Linked DNA regions of Homo sapiens: region 1 is linked to region 2. Evidence: promoter capture Hi-C in human tissues and cell types (Jung and others, 2019). All regions are on one chromosome and are shown on one strand. Each heading gives the region's core, a stretch centred on a gene start or on the middle of the fragment in contact. The rest is flanking DNA. Distances are from core to core; before and after follow the strand shown. Region 1 has its middle 12 kb from the start of LMO3. Region 2 holds the start of MGST1 (microsomal glutathione S-transferase 1).

Evidence for each region. The method cuts DNA at HindIII sites, captures the fragments that hold promoters and counts their contacts. A contact is called where the count stands out against the background at its distance.
Region 1: a fragment that was not itself captured here is called in contact with the fragment with the promoter of MGST1 in region 2 in 1 of the 25 tissues and cell types used here (heart left ventricle).

The regions. Positions count from the first base shown.
Region 1 is chr12:16,616,446-16,619,145 of GRCh38, forward strand. No RefSeq gene overlaps it. Among named protein-coding and RNA genes, the nearest start is that of LMO3, 12 kb to the left of the region's middle. The HindIII fragment of the contact is 3,053 bases long and covers 1-2,700 here.
Region 2 is chr12:16,346,389-16,349,088 of GRCh38, forward strand. It overlaps MGST1 (microsomal glutathione S-transferase 1), which reads left to right and starts at 1,257. Exons shown (of 4, transcript NM_020300.5): 1 at 1,257-1,322. RefSeq lists enhancers at 347-1,276, 2,207-2,700. The HindIII fragment of the contact is 4,760 bases long and covers 1-2,700 here.

The DNA of each region.
Region 1 (2,700 bases), core at 101-2,600, 270 kb after region 2:
GAAAAATAAGAATTTTAAAAGGATGATATTGTGAACCAAGAATTTCATATCTACACAATGTATTTTCTTATGTAAAAACCATTTAAGGATGGTTTGTATGTATAAAAGATCAGCAAAATGAATATTTATGTACATTTACAAAACAAATGACTTGAAAGATTGCTCTAAATTAATCTAAAAGAATCAGATTTTAAAACCCAAACATGGGAGGGTCATGGCACAAAAGGATTGGGAGTTTTGCCTTTATCTATTTGGATCAAAATTTTAGGTGCAATGTTAGATATTTCATCAAGCAGTAGAGTATTTCTGTAATCCTGTGATTTCATTTGATTCTCTTCAACTCCGACCGCTTCCCCATCACCAGGAAATATATTTCTCATGTCTCATTGCAAACCTCACAGTTCAGATGGAGCCTCTTGTTAGGTCCAACGACCTAGGAAACTAACTAGCACTTGCGAGATGTCCAAAATATCATACAGTTGGCCCTCTGTAACTGTAGGTCCCATATCCATGGATTCAGCCAACTACAGATAAAAAATATTCGGAAAAAACTGCATTTGTACTTAACATATACAGACATACTCTTGTTGTTATTCCCTAAACAACTATTGCCATTGTATTTGGTATTACAAGTAATCTAGAGATTATTTAAAGTATGCAGGAAAATGTGCATAGGTTATACACAAATACAACACCATTTTATATCAGTGACTACAGCATTTGCTGTTTTGATATTTGCGGGAGGTCTTGGAACCAATTCTACATGGATACTCTGGGACAACTGTATTTACATGGCTGAGAATTATGCTTGATAGTTTCTGTTTGCTATCTATATGGCAATATATTGTCAACTTTTTAAAATCATTTATTTCTCTCATTAATGAGGCCTTTATCACGACTAGATTTGTTTTACAGATTAGGAAATTTAGGATGCTTGGCCAACTTTCTCAAGACACCACACTAAGTAAGAAATAAATTTGAACTTACATTTTCTGACTTCAAATCAGATATGTGCTCCATATCTTGCCTAACATAGGACTGCTTCATAGATTTTTAGAAAATGGTAATTTGTATTTTTTTTTGGTTGTATACCATCATTTGAGTTGAAAAAAGGAAACAATCTTCATGTCACTTAATACTTCAATCAGTTTAACCTTATTGTTCAACTCTCAAGTGTACAATTATTGTGCATAATGGTATTAATATGTAAAAAATTACTTTTCTAATATTCAGTTGATATGACAGTAGGTTCCAAACTGCTTTTTTGACATCTATTTGTTTGATTACTCTGAATCAGATAGTTTAGCATTACATTTTTTGGAAAGAAATATGAGGACCCTTAGTTAGCTACAGTAAAGCTTTTTTTTAAACAATAAATTTTGATATAATTTCAAACTTACAGAAAAATTGCTGAAACAGTACAAGAAACTCCTATATACCATTTACCCAAATTCAACAATTATTTGTATGCTGCCTCATTTACTTTATAAATCTCTGTCTCCCTCTTCATATGTATACATACATGCAAATTTTCCTTTAAATATTTGAGAATACATTGGAGACATTGTGCCCCTCTACCCTTGAATAGTTTATCATGTGTTTCTGGGAAAACAAGAGCAAAAAATGAAATCTCTATGTTCTCTGAAGTAGTTAAAACCCAATTATAGAAATCAGAAAAACTTAACATCCATAAAATACTATTATCTAATTCACAGTCCATACACAAAATTCATCAATTATCCCATTAAGATCCTTTATAACCCACCCCATTCTGTCTCCATCCAGGATACAATTCAGCATCAGGCACTGCATTTAGTTATCATATCTCTTCTTTTCTTTCTTTATGGAGAAGCTTGAAGTCCAAAACACATTTCTTCTTATGGCCAGTAAAGTTTGGAGGCAGACCAGTTGTTCACCATCCTGGTTTACATTTAGACTTATCTGGGGAAATCTGCAAAGCCGTTTTACTATTCCCACACTACCCTTGCTGACTCAGAATCCCAGGGAAGGAATTGCCCCAGAACTCATATTTGTTTTTTTTTATTCTTCAAAAGATCTAGTCATTCTGATGATCAGCTAGCTTTGAAATCCCTGAGGTCAACCAATGCTAAACTTGGAGAAGGAGAGCAACACTGCTGAGGCTAGCCAGAGAGGCAATATTAGAGAGAGAGAGAGAGAAGAAAGATGACAGGAGAGAAGAGGAATGACAGAGAGGAATCAGAGGCATGTCATAGAAGGTGGAAGCTTTTCCAGTAGGTACTTAAGAATATTTACCCCAAAACGACCACTAGTAAAGACAGCTCTGGAAAGAGTAAAACAGAGACCCTTTTGGCTTTCATAATTTTAAGATATCTGTAAGCAGCTTGTTTCTTGAACAATTATAACCTATTTGGCAAGAAAACATTTCTGTAACCATGTAAATCTGAAGAACAAAATTAGTGTAATTACCTTCTCATCACCTTTAATATATGAAAATTCATCATAAATCTGCAAAAGTACAAAGTATTTCCCCAATTTGCTTGACATCACCTTTCTGGAGGCATGCCTGTTAGTTAACACCTCCACTTCACTGCCTAAGTGACTTTAGAAGTTGCATTAGATTCTGAAAAACTGCACCATGTAACTCAGGTAAATTTTGGTAAAGACATTCATAAGGGCAAAATTATAAAGAAATATCTTTTCTCTAACTGTTTTTAGTTT
Region 2 (2,700 bases), core at 7-2,506:
GCCATGTTATCCATAAGATTTGGCCTGTATCACCTTATAATAAATGAAGAGAGTCTTAAATTCTTATAATACCAAACTCCTTTGGAGAGAATTCAGAATAGATTTATGTCATCTCAAATTCTATCCTATTCCAGTTAATGTTACAGACAGATTCTAGTATACTTTACAAAGATAGGTGAATAAGTAGAGTTTTGAAAAGATACAGACATAAAAGTGAAGAACAGATGCCTTCTGATGCTAGATTTTCCAAAACTCCTACTGTTATGCTTATATAGAAATCATTCTCAGACCTTCCTTGGATTAATTTCTGTTCCTAGAGCAAACTGGTAGTTATTTCTTTCTTTAATAGAACATGAACTTGTCCATCACATCCTAGAAAGTTAGTCCTAGGGATATCCTTTAAAGCCTAAAGGAGTAAATTAAGAGCAAAAAAAGGAAGTAGACCTTGCAACAGGTGGTGAGTGTCTGAGATATAGCACTAGGAGAGAAATAATATAGATTGAAAACAGAAATCCTTAAACATTTCTCATATAAACCCATGAAAGATAGATCCATAAATATTGTGGGGACTATGGGGACTAGGAAGCTTGGAAGTATCCCTAATCTAGATAGTGATGGTAGGCTAAATATCTACGGCTTCCGTAAACGTTCCTCTAAACCTCCCTGTAAAAAACACACTAAGCTGATTGTGTAATGAGCTGATCCAGTACAATTGCCTCCAATTTCATTCTGGACCCTGAACAGGAGGGGACATCGTGACAAAGCAAATTGTCTGGTATCATGAATTTGGAACACCGTAAGTGATCTTTACTGAGGGTTACATTCTGTCATTGTCAGCCTTTTAAGGAGGCCTTGCCACCAGCGCAGGGGAGGTGAAGTCTAAGGGAAGGTAATATTGTCAATGCCTGCTAATTAGTTCTACCCTGGAGATTTTAACTTTCTGCGAAGTTTTTAAAAACAACTTCCAAAACTCTGCTGATCCTGAAATGTTCGAGAATTCAGAGTTCCTAGACAATGGCTACTGTCCCCCTTCCCACTGATTAGGGGAGTTGGCATTTCAGGAACCAGAGTTTCTAAGGGCGCCAAATAGAAGGGCTCAAAGGGAATCAGCAGGCGATGGTTACTGTGGGCGGGTAAATCAGGTGATTTAGAGGAGGGGTTTGGCGAGGTTGGGGTCGGGCTTTAAACGTGGGAGGGCTAATTAACAGGAGATTAACTGGAGAGGGGCGGTGCCTGCGTCCGGCCCGCGCGGCCACAGTCCCTGCATTGCGCGCGACCCGGCGGCGGGACAGGCTTGCTGCTTCCTCCTCCTCGGCCTCACCGTGCGTACTGGGAGGGGAGAAGGGGACCGCATGCAAAGGGTGGCAGGCAGGGAGGGCCAGGGTGGGTGGCAGATGGAAGACTTGGGGGGGTCTCTGCCAGCTGGAAGTGCTTGGCTCCACTTAGCAGCTAAACTTAGCTTTTCAATCGATCGCTTTTGAAAGGGAATTGTATTTCTGTCCCCGTGCGGGTAAGTTTTCCCATTTCTCAAACTCCAGGAATGAAACGAGAGAGTCTTTTCATGCTTGAGTGATGATTTCCAAACTTAGCCTTTTCAAGTCAAAGTAACCTCCTGTTTGAAAGGGTCCCTTGAACTCTGGGGAAGGAGGAAAAGGCACGTGTAGTAATGGAGGAAATGCCTGTAGTTTGAACGACTGCTGTTCTCCCCAAGAGTGCAAAAGCCTGCGATGTCTCAGGTTTCATGGGCATAGTGGCCTTTATGCCTATTGTAAGGCAGGATTTGCTCTTCTGAGTTCACTTTGATAGGAGAAACATCAGCAAGTTTTAAAATAATACTAAATAATACTACTGCTAATAATGCTAGCTATCGAAACAAGAGGATGTGGGTTAGATGATAATATTTTTGTGTGATATTATAGCCAGTGACAAGAGAGCTAAGGGTGAGCCCCTTGGGACGGTTCTCACCTGTGCCCCACTTCCCCAGTCTGGAGGAGGAAGCCATGTGGAAGGAGAAAAGGAGAAGGGAACTCTCTTTTTCGGGAATTAAGGTGTCATATATTGCTCTAGCTGGCTTGGGACAGAGGAGAGAGGAGTGCATGTAAATCTTCTAGTCTCTCTGCTTCTCTTGAAATGTGGCAGTCTGAGCTCCACGTTTATATTCCCCTATTTCTTCTCCCTAATTTCTTACCCAGTGAGTGCTGAGTGGGTGCCCGCAAGCATTGCTGTATAGCACCCAGGCCTCCAGTGAGCAATCCTTAAAGCCCAGTTTTCCTGGGGTCCCAGCCTGCTGTGAGTCCCAGCCTACACCTACCTTTTGCATATGCTTTTCTTGGCCTTAGGATAGTACTGGACTTTGTTGTCCTCTGCTGTTTCCAAAATAAGAGGGCTATGTGTGCGATTATCTTTGGTAATTAAAAAAAAAAAAAAAAAAAAGGCAAATCAGTCCAAATTTGGATATTACCCTCTCTGGCAGACGAGTAAAATTTTTCTACCGCTTTGTTTTAGAGTGGTGTCTATGAATCCCTGAGATTGGAAAAGGAGGTCAGGTCAGCACAGAGAAAGGCCTTACCCCACCACTCTCCCGAGAGGCACCAGCATTTCACCTGCAGCCTCTGGGCTCTGAACCCCACTTTGCATGAGACCACATAGTGGGCTGAGTCTGCAGCCACCACGATGCCTTCAGGAAATGCTAGAATTCAT